Regions from separate parts of the Homo sapiens genome. Here regions 2, 3, 4 and 5 are each linked to region 1. The links are contacts of gene promoters, found by promoter capture Hi-C in human tissues and cell types (Jung and others, 2019). All regions are on one chromosome and are shown on one strand. Each heading gives the region's core, a stretch centred on a gene start or on the middle of the fragment in contact. The rest is flanking DNA. Distances are from core to core; before and after follow the strand shown. Region 1 holds the start of LYSMD1 (LysM domain containing 1). Region 2 holds the start of GOLPH3L (golgi phosphoprotein 3 like). Region 3 holds the start of CTSK (cathepsin K). Region 4 overlaps ARNT (aryl hydrocarbon receptor nuclear translocator). Region 5 overlaps CTXND2 (cortexin domain containing 2).

The links. The method cuts DNA at HindIII sites, captures the fragments that hold promoters and counts their contacts. A contact is called where the count stands out against the background at its distance.
Region 2: a contact is called between the fragment with the promoter of GOLPH3L here and the fragment with the promoter of LYSMD1 in region 1, in 1 of the 25 tissues and cell types used here (lymphoblastoid cells).
Region 3: a contact is called between the fragment with the promoter of CTSK here and the fragment with the promoter of LYSMD1 in region 1, in 2 of the 25 tissues and cell types used here (aorta and liver).
Region 4: a fragment that was not itself captured here is called in contact with the fragment with the promoter of LYSMD1 in region 1 in 1 of the 25 tissues and cell types used here (liver).
Region 5: a contact is called between a fragment that was not itself captured here and the fragment with the promoter of LYSMD1 in region 1, in 2 of the 25 tissues and cell types used here (liver and spleen).

Annotation. Positions count from the first base shown.
Region 1 is chr1:151,164,380-151,167,248 of GRCh38, reverse strand. It overlaps LYSMD1 (LysM domain containing 1), which reads left to right and starts at 1,347. Exons shown (of 3, transcript NM_212551.5): 1 at 1,347-2,170. The coding sequence starts at 1,991. It overlaps TNFAIP8L2-SCNM1 (TNFAIP8L2-SCNM1 readthrough), which reads right to left. Exons shown (of 7, transcript NR_144937.2): 2 at 708-778; 3 at 227-315; 4 at 31-128. SCNM1 (sodium channel modifier 1) reads right to left here and starts at 1,105. Exons shown (of 7, transcript NM_024041.4): 1 at 1,046-1,105; 2 at 708-778; 3 at 227-315; 4 at 31-128. The coding sequence starts at 1,096. RefSeq lists enhancers at 1,057-1,106, 453-1,159, 1,127-1,406, 1,160-1,865. The HindIII fragment of the contact is 12,820 bases long and covers 1-2,869 here.
Region 2 is chr1:150,695,789-150,698,657 of GRCh38, reverse strand. GOLPH3L (golgi phosphoprotein 3 like) reads left to right here and starts at 1,504. Exons shown (of 5, transcript NM_018178.6): 1 at 1,504-1,666. It overlaps HORMAD1 (HORMA domain containing 1), which reads left to right. Exons shown (of 15, transcript NM_032132.5): 15 at 1-598. The coding sequence ends at 4. The HindIII fragment of the contact is 17,441 bases long and covers 1-2,869 here.
Region 3 is chr1:150,806,641-150,809,509 of GRCh38, reverse strand. It overlaps CTSK (cathepsin K), which reads left to right and starts at 1,250. Exons shown (of 8, transcript NM_000396.4): 1 at 1,250-1,296; 2 at 2,704-2,824. The coding sequence starts at 2,705. The HindIII fragment of the contact is 16,762 bases long and covers 32-2,869 here.
Region 4 is chr1:150,834,979-150,837,847 of GRCh38, reverse strand. ARNT (aryl hydrocarbon receptor nuclear translocator) reads left to right here. Exons shown (of 22, transcript NM_001668.4): 7 at 1,355-1,568. Among named protein-coding and RNA genes, the nearest start is that of CTSK, 28 kb to the right of the region's middle. RefSeq lists a cis regulatory region at 1,435 and an enhancer at 1,363-1,507. The HindIII fragment of the contact is 8,676 bases long and covers 1-2,869 here.
Region 5 is chr1:150,907,473-150,910,341 of GRCh38, reverse strand. All of the region lies in intron 1 of CTXND2 (cortexin domain containing 2), which reads right to left. The region is part of intron 1 of LOC107985204 (a long non-coding RNA gene); the gene reads left to right. Among named protein-coding and RNA genes, the nearest start is that of SETDB1, 17 kb to the left of the region's middle. The HindIII fragment of the contact is 6,057 bases long and covers 1-2,869 here.

The DNA of each region.
Region 1 (2,869 bases), core at 98-2,597:
CCTAGAACACACTCTCCACTCTCTGATTACCTCAGCTTTGGTTTCTTCCCTTCTCAATTCATTCTGATGTTTTGGATTCTGCTTTCTTTCCTTTCCCGGCTGCTTCTTGCCATAGAAAAGCTGCAAGCCTGAGGAGAAAGGGAAACAGAATTAAAAGCATAGCACCAAGAGTGGTGTGCAGAGATTTCGAGGGTTTATTCCCCATCCCGTCTTCCCCCTAACTTACTGGACAGATGTTTCTTGCCTGCACGGTGGGCAGTCAGCATGGCCAGGGTGTCCAGTACCGGTCGATGGGGGCAGATGGCACAAGCAAAGCTGAGCAGGGGTAGAGAAGAGGATAAGTGGTCCAGGGGAAGAGGGTTGGGCCCGTCCCTGCCATAGGTCCCACCCTGTCCTAGCAGTCTTTGCAAAACCCAACTCCCTGGTGACCCAATCTCCACTTCTTCCAGTCCTCACTGGCCGCCAAAGAATCCTAGGTACTCCTGCTGTCCTAATTAATAACAAAAGTTTGTTGAAGCCAGGCGTGGTGGCATGCGCTTGTAAACCCAGCTAATCGCGACGCTGAGGAGGCAGGATCACTTGAGCCCTAGAGTTCGAGGGCAGCCTGGGCAGCACCGCGAGACCTCCGTCTCAAAGGAAAAAAAAAAAAAAGTCTATTGAGCCTCTAACCGCAGAACCCTCAGGCTTGAGCCACTCCTTGCTCTTACCGTCCATCCCGAAGCATCAGCGCCTCATCCTCTGGAATGTAACTGGCTAGGAGGTCCCCGACTCTTCTTTTCTGCAGGGAGTAGGGGAAGAAATCCGGACGGGATCAGCGGGATAGGAGAGAGGGGTGGAAGTGAAATTATAGAAATGAGGAGTGAAATGGAATAAGGACCCTGGGGAGAACAGCGATCATAGACCGAAAAAGGAGTCACTACACAGCTCTAAGTCGCCTGGTTCTCTCCTGCACCCCCGAGTTGTTGCCAGAGCAATGAAACAAAGCTCCTTCCCAACCTTCAGGGAGCGACTGAAGCGGCTCCAGATCCTCTCCGCTCACGCTTACTTTGAGCACATTGAGTTGACTCCAATCGTCTCCTTCCCTCTTGAAAGACATCACGACTGTGAGTCCCAGAAGTGATAAATTCTCTGTTCCGGTTTCGCCACTCCTCCAGGCCACCGTAGCAAGAGCGGGACAGCGCCTTCTCTTTTTTCCTTCTCTTCCTGTCGGCCTCCGTACTTCCGGGGACGCACTTCCACGCATGCATTGCGCGATCCGGAAATCCACTCTCTGGTGCTCGGAGGGAACTGCATTTCCTATGGTGCCCTGCGACTCCGCAGACGCGGAGCCTTTTGGGAAATGAAGTCTTTTCTCAAAGACCTTGCCGCTCAACTGGATCCAGGCCCTTGCATCTTGGCGGATCTGAGGCGTTTGGAGGGACAACAACCTAGATGTGGAGCCGAAATTTGAGGGTGTGACCTATCTTATGCGGAGCGGACCTTTGAGGATCTCTGAGTGGAAGGTGTACTACAAATTCTTGCAATCCTCACGCTCTTCGTCTGCGGCGACAGTTCACCTGGGGTGGGCCTGATTTGTTCCTGACTCTAGCAAACAAACCCCGGGACCGGGGAGAGCTGGGATGTTGGAGCGCCCTGAGGCCAGGCTACTTGGGGGCAAACTGAGGAAAGAGTGTTGAGGATTATTTCTAGAGTTCAAAGGTCAGAGGTCAATGTAGCGAGGAGTTGTGGGGGAGTCCAAAGTCGGAGGGGTGCTTAGGGGAGAATTAGGGAGGGACTGAATACTCAAGGGACAGATTTGTGGATAAGTAGCTTGGAGGGAGGAGAAACCGGGAGGGGGCAGATGGCGTAGTGCTGGGGAGGCGGGGACACAGGGGAAGAGAGAGGGGGAAAGGAATCCCCTGAATATTCATTCCCAGACTTCAGGCCTGTCAGTCGCAGTCTCGGTCGTACCTCCCCTAGTTGCAACCTTAGCTGTTGGCAGGGTGAAGAGATGGCTTCCCCGTCTAGACAGCCCCCGCCAGGGGGGTCAGGACTGCTTCAAGGGAGCCGGGCTCGTTCATATGGAAGCCTGGTGCAATCGGCCTGCTCCCCAGTGAGGGAAAGACGCCTGGAGCATCAGTTGGAGCCCGGAGACACCCTGGCTGGACTAGCACTCAAATATGGGGTGACGGTGAGTTTTCCAGGATTGGGGTGAAGACAACAGTCAGGAGGGATTTAGTCCTGAGAAGAATGTAGTGGCCCTTCTAGGTAACCTCCCCTGAAATGTTCCTAATGTGTTGCACTCTGTTCTGCCTTTATCTTTGTTTTCCCATCACAGTGTTGCACAAGTCCTGCCCTACTATTCCAACGGAGAGGAACAGCTCCTATTTTATTATGCCAGACACTGTGCTGAGGGCTTCACATACGTTAGCTCATTTCACCCTCACATCTGTATCAAGTATACATTTATCGTTCCCTTTTGGCAGATGAAGAAACTGAGACTTGGATTGGTTAACCAGTTTGGCTAAGGTCAAATAATGAGCGTCAGATTTGGGATTCAAACAGGTCTGTCTGACTCTATTAACCACACAGAAAATTTTATGTTGAGAGTGATTAAACGTTTACAGCAACTAATGGAGAGCTGATTTTTAGTTCTCAGTTCCTAAAGTGCCCACCTCTCCTTGCTCTTGGTTCCTCCTCAATGCTCTGCCTTCTTTCCAGTAAGGTGGCCTCCTTTGTGCAAAACAGGTACTCTACACCAAGTATTTCAGGTCATGCATGGGGGAAATTGGATAGATGTAAAAATGTACAGCATTGAAGTTGATGGGGTTACTCCCCCTATCCCTGCCCCTGTTTTCTTGTTCCATCTCACTCAAACAAATGTTGAATT
Region 2 (2,869 bases), core at 255-2,754, 470 kb after region 1:
ATAAAAATTATTTTTGTTCTGCAGGCTTGCAGAGTTCTTCTCACCATTTAAACTGAAGGACCCTATATTATATTTCCCTAACTCTGAAGATGTATATGTAGTTTAAAGCAGTTTGTACACTAAAACTAAGTTTTTGGCTGACTGTCATATTGTGGTCCTTAATCTTGAGATAAATCCAATAGAACTTTTGAATAAAAGCAAAAGTACAAATGTCATAATTGATTCGGTAATAAGTAAAATTTCAAAATTGATTTTGTTCATTACCTACTTAATATTTCCTTTAAATATATACTAACTGTTAAGGCCCTCTAATGCCATTTTTCTAAACAGTAATGTTTACTTTGGTATTAAAATTTGGTATGGATTCACTTTTTACTTATGTTAAAATTATACCATTTAACTGGCTCTTTTGTCATTGTGCTGTTATTAAAACAATGTTCTTCAATATTTTGACATAATGTATTAACATTTTAATATATAATGTACAATTTAAGAATTGGTGCTTTACCTTTACTATGCTTTTTTTTACAGGACAAAAAGACTGATTTTTAAAGTATGGCATTTTTTGCAGCATAAATAAAATATTGTTCAGTACGTAGGCCCTTTTATCGCTTCTAATTTTTATTTAAGTAGCAGGAAATATGGCTTCATTCATTTGAAAGGCTGGTAGGAGGATGGGGGGATAGGGAATACTAATTTTTAGATGATTTCGGTAGCTATTACTTTGCAAGAAGAGTTGAGCACACTTTCTAGAATTTTTGAGTGGTAGTATGAAAAATGCTGTGCTTTTAATGAGAAACCTGGGAGCTAGTTCCAGCCTTGCCTGCTTTCTTTGCTTTAGAAAAAGGAAGACTTAAAACTTGGTCTGTTTGCCGCTTGTAGTTTCAGCAGCCATATTCCAAAAACATACACATCCATGGGTTTGTCAGTAATAAGCGCTATAGGGAATGCTGGTACATATGCGATGGTAGAAATGTATTCATCCTGTTTAAGGTAAACCATATAAACGTACACAAACTGACCCAGATCATGTTTTTCTGGAACAGTCAAGTCAAGGATAAACTGACTGTCAGAAACAACCAATGTAAAAATATTTATTTATTTTTAGCTGTATTGCTTGGATCCCAACACATCTCACTTAATTGTCCCAGTATACGCTACTACAGCAACACACCTGCTACGCTGAAATTAACCCACAGAAACCTTTCGAGATTGGCAGCCCATGTTAGCTCACTCAGCGCTTTGATTGGCTGGTTTAATGGGGGTGGGGAGCGCAGCCCTCTTTCCTCTCTTCCACCAAGGTTCCTTCATTGGATTGACCAGCTGTCAGGTTGAACGCAAACCTGCCTCCTTTTGGTGGTGTTTGTCTGGATCGCAACAGAATAGCTGGGGGAGAGCCTCCCCCTGTGAGCTCCGATTGGCGGGACTCAACCTTGGTGATTTCTGATTGGCGCAATGAAGAAACACCAAGGTAGGTTGCCTAGTGATCCTGAGGAAGCTGATGTGTTATTCCTTCTCTGCATCGAAGGATCAGGAAGTTTGTGCTCTCTGCGTGGCTAAGTTTTTCACCTACTAGGACGGGGGTGGGGTGGGGAGAACAGGTGTCCTTCTAAAATACAGCACAAGCTACAGCCTGCGTCCAGCCATAACCCAGGAGTAACATCAGGTAAGCAACGAGAAAATTACATTTCCTAACGTCCCTTCCCCCCACCAAAAAAAACCTCTATTTTTTAAAATTATTATTTTATGGGAGGGAAAGGTTTGTATTCATTTGGGCCATTTGTTTTCTTTCAAGTAGGATTTTTAACTAGTAAATGTGCAGATGAAACTAATTTCTCAAAGAAACCGCCCCCTCTCCCCCTCCCCCCCTGCCCCGCGAAGGTTTAAAGTTTCTTGGATTGGTTTAGGAAATAGTCCCTATTCACAGTGCCAGATAGGCTTAGTGCGCTTAAGAATTTATTTCATGGTTCTCTTCCTCCTTCACTTTTCTTCCCACCTCCCATAACAAATTATATTTGAAATATACCCTTGTACAAAAAAACTTTTGTAGCTCACTTCATTTGTATTTCTATTTTAAATGTTCACATGCACTTCTGAGTATTCATTTTAATCAATATAAATTTATCGAGCAATAACAATGTTAAAGACAGTGCTAGTTGCTATGGAGAATATATAAACCCAAGAAGACAATATCCCTGTTCTTAAGAAGTTTACAGTTGAGAGACAGCTATACCAAGAGAAAGACTATAATAAATACTTTAAAGGAAGTGAGTATAAATAAAGCTCTGTGAAACAGCTGAGGGAGTGGCCATGAGACACATAGGTAATAGAAAAGAGGAGGTCACTTAAAGGCCTTCACAAGGCCTTTAAAGAATGGGTAGAATGTAAAGAGGAAGAGAAAAGGGTGAAGACCCCAGCAAGTACAGAGGAGCAGAAGCAGAAAGAAAGCATGAGACATTTTTGAGAAAAAGTCTGGCAACACTACTTATTAGGAGCAATGGGAAATATTGCTAGAGGAGTAGAAACGAGTCCAGTCATAGCAACTCTTAAATACCATTATTTTGATCTTGAAAAAGATACTCCTTTATATAATTGCTGATTTAAAATATTTGTTATATATTATCTTAAAAACTGATATCTAGATTTATATAAAATAAAGTATGCTAACTATAAACTTTATCACAAATGATTTAGTGCAGTTTCTTTTGACCGTAGTACATAGAATAAAAGACATGTTCTTTGACTTTTTTTTTTAAATTGAGAAAATTTGTTAATCTTTCAACACTCTCTTGCCAGTAATTTTTGTTTGCAGCTCCTTGTGTATTTGCAAGATATGGCTAGCTAGGACTAGAGCTGCTAAGTTTACTGA
Region 3 (2,869 bases), core at 1-2,500, 360 kb after region 1:
AGCTTCCCAAGTAGCTGGCACTACAGGTGTGTGCCACCATGCCCAGCTAATTTTTGTGTTTTTTTTTTTTAGTAGAGATGGGGTTTCACTATATGTTGGCCAGGCTAGTCTCGAACTCCTGACCTTAGGTGATCCACATGCTTTGGCCTCCCAAAGGCCTGGGATTACAGGCGTGAACCACTGCGCCTAGCCTGTTAGCAGCTCTTAAAATCCAGAGGCATAAGCCTGTATTTTTGAGGGTTTATGCATGGAATCCAGCTAGAAACTGAGTCTATTACAGATCCCATTTATTATCCTTTCTATTCCAAGAAGCCTTTTTTTCTCCTTCCCCACATCTGTTTATGGAAGAAAATGAAGTTTGGGGTGTGGTTTGAGGAATCAGCTAGATTCTTATGATCTGTCACATGCTTGGATGTTGGGGAAGCATTTGGAGAAGCTCATGTGACTTGTCCTAGATTGGGGATTTTAATTGAGACAGATGATGTTTATCGGGCATCCCACCACCTGAGAGTTTTAGCAACAGAGTCACATGTGAGTCCATCAGAACTTACGGCATTGATTCAAGTGCTGTCATAAATAACCAGGACTGCTGTTTTTGGTTACTTTTAAAGACAGTTTCATCTGGACTTTCTGGGCATATCCTCCTTCAGCAAAACCACATTAGGCTGGGAAAACTATTCTGCCTGGAAGTAATGACAACTTGCAACCAACAAGCTTATAAAAATACAAAGAATTCTGGAGCCTATGGCTTCCATTACATTATTCTTTTATAGCCTTTTATGTTCATTACCGCATCCCAGAGGTGAGAGTCAGACACAAATATGAAAATAGGTTTCAATGTTGGAGAGGTAAATCCTAACAGGAAAGGGGTAGGAAAAGATATAATCCCCCAATATTAAAATAAAGATATTGAAGAAGAAGGATGGGAGAGACTAGGGCTGTGTCCTTCCTTTTACTCACCAAAAGAGAAAGTAAGCTCCTATTTGAGTCAATAGATATTGAGGTCTTGTTATTTGCCACCAAAGACAGTCTTGTGAGACTAAATAGCTAGTAATTCCCTACCCTGGCACACATGCTGCATACACACAGAAACACTGCAAATCCACTGCCTCCTTCCCTCCTCCCTACCCTTCCTTCTCTCAGCATTTCTATCCCCGCCTCCTCCTCTTACCCAAATTTTCCAGCCGATCACTGGAGCTGACTTCCGCAATCCCGATGGAATAAATCTAGCACCCCTGATGGTGTGCCCACACTTTGCTGCCGAAACGAAGCCAGACAACAGATTTCCATCAGCAGGTAACGTTTGCAACTTCCTAGATCTTTTAGCTTTTCATTCCTGTCAATTCTCTGAGTATTAGGGATGTAGTGACTTGAGGATCACAATAAACTTTTAGCCTCTGCAGATGAAAACAGAGATGCACTTCTTAGGTCATTCCCTGGCTAAATAAAATCTGCCTGGAAATCTGTAGAATTCCTTGTATGATTTATATATATACATACATGATTGTTAGTAAAAGCAAAGTATATAGGGAATCATTTCCCCATCCTTCAAGAGTGGCCTTTCTGCAGTGTTTTCTACTTTGGCCAACAAGGATCAAAACGGTTAACTCCTTAGTGAGGAGGAGGAGAGTGGTATGGGGAGGTAGTAGCTCAGTGCTTCCTGTTCACTGAGACATCTCAAAGCCCTTAACACTCTAGTTTTTAAATGTCCTACTGGACATTTTGCCAGTTTGCAAAATTACATGTAAATGGACTATAAGCAATTGTGTAAGCCATATGTCATGCTGCAGGCTGCAAATTGTTCTTAAAATGGAGGATTTGTAATTAAGAAAGCCAATGCAAGAAATGAGTGAAGCTAACTAGAGTAAACTTATGAAAAGCTGTGAATTTCATCATCATAGAACATTGCTTTTCAGTCTGAACATTCTTCTAACAAACCTTGGATCTGAGGCTTCTTGTCCTTTGCGGCAGCCACAGTGGGTTTTTGTTGTTAGGGGAAAAATAAAAAACCTTGCCCGCAGCATCTGGTTAAGATTAGGGCAGTTTCCTGCCTAAGGAGGGAAGGGAGAGAAAAAGGAAGAAGAAATGCATAAGGAGAATGAGGAGATATACAATGTCTCAGAAAACAGGAAACATTGTCCTATTTTCCCTTGTCCTCTTCTGACAAGATCTGGGAAAGTACCAGAATTTAGGCACGAAAGAGAAGAACGCCTCGAAGAAATGATCAGGAGGCAAAACTTAGACGGAAATCTCTCCTTTGTGTATTCTGAACCCCACTACCACCTTGCTATTTGTCTGTCTCCAAGCCTGCTAGGGACCCTGGAGGAAACGCACTGAGCCCATTCTGATTGTCCAGTTTCTATCCCCCATTTCTGGTTGTGTACGTGTGTGTGTGTGTGTGTGTGTGTGTGTGTGTGTGTGTGTGTGTGAGAGAGAGAGAGACAGAGAGAGAAACAGAGAGAGTGTGTGTTGCCTAAATCTCCCGAGAGAGAGAGAGAGAGAGAAAGAGAGAAATGGCTAAATCCCCCTAGATCAAAGTCCTTGGAACCAGATGTACCAGCATCCTATCTAAACACAGGCCCCTCCTGACTATCATTGTTTTATCACCCTTTTTCCGTCTACCTTTCTCTTCCTCATAAAGCCTAGTTTTCCTCTGTTTCCCTGCCAAATGGAAGAGTTTTCCCTAACTACATTCTTCTGCAGGATGTGGGGGCTCAAGGTTCTGCTGCTACCTGTGGTGAGCTTTGCTCTGTACCCTGAGGAGATACTGGACACCCACTGGGAGCTATGGAAGAAGACCCACAGGAAGCAATATAACAACAAGGTGCCTGGGGTCCTGGAGGGGGCATGGCAGGAAGGCTGAGACCTG
Region 4 (2,869 bases), core at 248-2,747, 330 kb after region 1:
ATGATTCAGGTTTTGGGATGTTGATGTTGAGTTGCTGGTAGAATATTTATAAATATTTTACAGATACTTGAAATTCAAGTCTGCTGAAAGCTCAGGAAAAAACGTTAGTCATGTCTAGGGCTATAGACTTGGTTATTATTTCGTAGTGGGGAAGAGTGAATATGGTTTCCCAGGAAGAAAGTATGGTATTAATAAAGAGGGCTTAAGATGAACTTTGGAAATGTCTACATTTAAGACTTGAACAAAGGAAAGGAAGTCTGAAACAGAAGAGGAAGCAAAAATTGGAGTACAGTCTCATAGAAGAAGGTAGGGAAAAATAAAATTTAAAGGATAAGATGGACGACATTGTCACATTCTGCAGAGAGGTTGAATAAAGTGATGAAGACCCAGGAAAAGGGACTTGAATTGGTAATTAGGAGGACATTAGTAACCTCATTAAAAATATATGTATGCTGTTCCTGGCAGAACAAAAACCAAACCAAACAGGAAAACAGTAGTTTAGAGTGAGAGTGAAGTGGGATTGAGAAATAATTGAAAGGTAAGAGGATAAAGCCAGTGAATATAACATTATTCTTAGTATAAGCTTGCTGCTGAAAAAGAGAGATGAGGTGGGTCAAACTGAGGGAAGATTTATCTAGAATTGAGAAAACTTGATCATTTTTATAGGCCTGAAGGGAAAGAGAGAAAGTGGGAATATTTGTCAAGCAAGATCCTAAAAAGAGACCAGAGAGGATGGAATTAAGAAGTCAATTATTGTTCATGGTAAGCCTTTTTTTTTTTGAGACAGGGTCTCTTGCTCTGTCGCTCAGGCTGGAGTGTGGTGGTATGATCTCGGCTCACTGCAACCTCTGCTTCCCAGGCTCAGGTGATCCTCCCACCTCAGCCTCCGGAGTAGCTGGGACTACAGGCGTGTGCCACCACACCTGGCTAGTTTTGTTTTTGTTTTTGTTTTGTTTTGTTTTGTTTGTTTGTAAAGATGGAGTTTCGCCCCATTGCCTAGGCTGGTCTTGAACTCCTGGACTCAGTGACCCTCCCACTTTGACCTCCCAAAGTGCTGGGATTACCGGCGGGAGCCGCTGTGCCTAGCCCAAGCCTTTTTATTCTTCTTGAATCCTGAGATAGAGAGGAAGAGGTGGATAGTGACATAGAGAAAGTGAGGAAACATGTATTAGAAAAAACTTTCTTATCGATGAACTACATTTAGGGTGGAAACCTGTGGCTGTGGATCAGGTGTGAACCAGCAGTTGCTTACGGAGAGATGCATGTGGCCTGAAGTGTCTTACTTCTTCCTGTGAATAGAAATACTTGTTTTTTCAGAGTAAAATATTAACTTCTATTTCTTTTTCTTGCGCAGGAACTGAAACATTTGATCTTGGAGGCAGCAGATGGCTTTCTGTTTATTGTCTCATGTGAGACAGGCAGGGTGGTGTATGTGTCTGACTCCGTGACTCCTGTTTTGAACCAGCCACAGTCTGAATGGTTTGGCAGCACACTCTATGATCAGGTGCACCCAGATGATGTGGATAAACTTCGTGAGCAGCTTTCCACTTCAGAAAATGCCCTGACAGGTGAGAGTTATGTGTATGGGAAATGAATGAGAAGTCCTTTCTTGTTTTTTTCCTGAGACTTAAGAGATGTTTTAGCTGTTAAATTGGTTTGTTGACTCTGGCAAGGCTTCAAGAATTTTCTACTTTAATGAATATAGTCAGTTCTTTTTATCCATATGAGATTATCTACTTTGTGGCTCAGCCTTAGAAAATATTTCATTGGTGATAATATTTTACATTTATCTTAATATTGGTATAAATAGAACAGTAAAAGCCAAACCTACAATACTTTTTTTTTTCCGTTCTAAAAGAATTATCCATGTTTTTATCTCATTTGTATGGATAATTATCTGGTATTTTTTCTACCTCCTGGTGCTTGGCTTTGTGCTAGGTTCAATGATAACAGCTTTTTATTCTATAGATATGGTTATTGGTCAATGTATAAGGTGTTTTCTGTTGTTGTTGTTGTTGTTGTTTGTATCTGTACTGTTGTTCTTTTTTTCTCCCCTATTTTATTATGTTCAGTCTTTTGGCCAGAGTTTGGCTAGAGGAAACAAGTCATATCTATTCTTGAGCAACTCTAGAAAAAAATTTAAAGTGGAAGCAGATAAAAAAACTGGTAGTTAAAATGCAAGAAATTTCAATATACTCATATTAGTGTTGTTGATCTTTAGTTTTCCTCCTTTTTTCCCACCCAAAAAAGAGACAGGGTCTCTCTCTTGCCTAGGCTGGAGTACGGTGGCACATCATAGCTTACTGTAATCTTGAACTCTTCTGGGCTCAGTAATCTGCCTGCTTACAGCTTCTTGAGTAGCTAGGAGTAGTTCATGTCACCACACTTGACCAATTTTTAAATTTTTTGTAGAGACAGGTTCTGTCTGTTGCCCAGACTGGTCTCAAACTCCTGGCCTTCAGCATTCCTCCTCCCATCTTGGCTTCTCAAAGGGCTGGGATTATCGGCATGAGCCACCACACTTGACCAGTTTTCCCCTCCTTTATGTTTTTATGATTTCATTTTTCTAGTTCTTCCTTTTCCCCAAAAGTTGTTCTTCGTTTCTGTATAATAAAGAAGACAAACAGATCTATATGTTTCTATAACATATAAAATTACTTGGTTTTTTTCTTTTTAAAATTTTTTCTTTTTATTCTTTTTTTTTTTTTTGAGACAAGGTCTTGCTTTATTGCTGAGGCTAGAGTACAGTGACTCTTCACAGGCACAGTCATAGCACACTACAGCCTCAAACTCCTGCCCTCAAGCAGTCCTCCTGCCTCAGCCTCCTGATTAGCTGGGACTACAGAAAAGTACTTGTTTTTCAACCAAT
Region 5 (2,869 bases), core at 182-2,681, 260 kb after region 1:
CCTGGCCAACATGGCGAAACCCCATGTCTACTAAAAATATAAAAATTAGCTGGGTGTGGTAGCACACACCTGTAATCCCAGCTACTCAGGAGACTGAGGCAGGAAAATTGCTTGAACCTGGGAGGCAGAGGTTGCAGTGAGCTGAGATCATGCCACTGCACTCCAGCCTGGGTGACAGATGGAGACCCGTCTCAAAAAAAAAAAAAAAGAAAAAAAAAAAACAGAAAAAAGAAAAAGAAATTGACCTTCTGGTCTTAAAGCTTAAAACTTACATTTGTTTTATGTTGAGTTCCTTCTTCAGGAAAGGGCCACCAGGCCTCTCAAAAAAAGTATCAAGGAACTGAAACTCAACCAGATCATCCCATCCTGACAATGAAGTGCAAGACCCCTCATTGGTCACAAGTGCTTTCTTGGCCTCCTGAGTTCCTGTTTTCCTACACATTGTTACATTTCTTCCTTGCTATATAAACCTCTAATTTTAGTTGGTCAGGGAGATGGATTTGTGACTGAGTTCCGGTTTCCTCTGCTGCAGCACCTGAGTAAAGCCTTCTTCTTTGGCAATACCTGTCATCTCAGGGGCAGGTATTGCTCATCTTTCTGTGTGGTGAGCAGCAGGACCTAGACCGAACTCCTGGTGTTTTGGTAACAATTTCACACCACATACAAAGATAAACTTAAAATGGATCAAAGACCTAAATGTAAGGATTCTTAGATATGACAGCAAAATCACGAGCAACAAAAAAGAGAGAAACTGGACTTCATCAAAATTTAAAACTTTTTTCTTTGAGACAGGGTCTCACTTTGTCACCCAGGCTGGAGTGCTATGGTGCCGTCTGGGGTCACTGCAGCCTCGACCTCCCAGGCTAAATTGATCCTCCCATCTCAACCTTCCAAGTAGCTGGGACTACAGGTGCACGTCATCATGCCCGGCTAATTGTTTTTTGTTTGTTTGTTTTGGTAGAGATGGAGTTTCACCATGTTGCCCAGGCTGGTCTCAAACTCCTGGGCTCAAGAGATCTGCCCTCCTTAGCCTCCCAAAGTGTTAGGATTGTATGAGCTACTGTGCCTGGTCAACACTTTTGTACTTTTTTTTTTTTTTTTTTTGAGAAGGAGTCTTGCTCTGTCGCCCAGGCTGGAGGGCAATGGCGTGATCTCGGCTCACTGCAACCTCTGCCTCCCAGGTTCAAGCGATTCTCCTGCCTCACCCTCCCGAGTAGCTGGGATTATAGGCGCCCCCACCATGCCCGGCTACGTTTTGTATTTTTAGTAGAGTCGGGTTTCACCATGTTGGCCAGGCTGGGCTCAAACTCCTGACCTCAGGTGATCTGCCCCCCTTGGCCTCCCAAAGTGCTGGGATTACAGGCGTGACCCACTGCGCCCAGCCAACTTTTGTACTTTAAGAAGCTTATTATCAAGAAAATGGGCTGGGCACGGTGGCTTATGCCTGACCAGCACTTTGGGAGGATGAGGTGGGAGGATCACTTGAGGTCAGGAGTTTGAGACCAGCCTGGGTAGTAAGGAGATACCTTGTTTCTTAATTTTTTTTTTTTTAATTAGCTAGGTGTGTGGCATATGTGTGTGGTCCTAGCTACTGGAGAGGCTGAGGCAGAAGGATCCTTTGAGCCCAGGAGTTCAGGGTTATAGTGAGCTATGATCGCACCACTGTACTCCAGCCTGGGTGACGGAGAGAGACCTGATAACCAAAGTTACAACGAAACAATGAAAAGACAACTCAATTAAAAATTAGGCAAAGGATATGAATAGAAATTTCTTTTTCTGCATAAGGAAGATATGCAAATGGCCAATAAACACATTTTTTAAATGGTCAACGTAATTAGTCATCAGGGAAATGGAAATCAAAACTTTGAGATACCACTTCACACCCACTAGGATGACTAGAATCAAGTCAGATTAAGTGTTGACAAAGGTAGAAAGTAATTGAAACCCTCATTGACGGTTGGTGGGAATGTAAAGTGGCAAAGTTACTTTGGAAAACAGTCTGGAAGTTCCTAAAATTATGAAACATAAGAGTTACTGGCCAGGTATGGTGGCTCACGCCTATAATCCCAGCACTTTGGGCAGCCAAGGTGGGTGGAGGATCACTTTAGTCCAGGAGTTCAAGACCAGCCTGGGCAACATGGCAAACCTTCCTCTCTACAGAAAATACAAAAATTAGTTAGATGTGATGGCGCACACCTGTAATCCCAGCTACTTGGGGGGCAGAGGCGGGAGGATCACCTGAGCCTGGGAGGCTGCAGTGAGCTTTGATCATGCCACCATACTCCAGCCTGAGTGACAGAGTGAGACACTGTCTAAAAAAAAAAAAAAAAGCTGGCTGGGCACGGTGGCTCACGCCTGTAATCCCAGCACTTTGGGAGGCCAAGGCGGGTGGATCACAAGGTTAGGAGATCAAGACCATCCTGGCTAACACGGTGAAACCCCATCTCTACTAAAAATACAAAAAATTAGCCGGGCGTGGTGGCAGGTGCCTGTAGTCCCAGCTACTCGGGAGGCTGAGGCAGGAGAATGGCGTGAACCTGGGAGGCGGAGCTTGCGGTGAGCCAAGATTGCGCCACTGCACTCCAGCCTGGGTGAGAGTGCGAGACTCCGTCTCAAAAAAAAAAAAAAAAAAAAAAAGCCACCATATGACGCAGCAATTCCACTCCTATGGCTGTCCCCAGGAGAAATGAAAACATGTGACCACACAAAAACTTATACAAGAATGTTTGTAGCAGCATTATTCATCATAGCCAAAAGGTAGAAACAACTCAAATGTCCATCAACTTATAAATGGATAAGCAAAGTGTGGTATGTCTACACAATAGACTATTATTGGCCATAAAAAGGAAGTACATACTACTTGGATGAA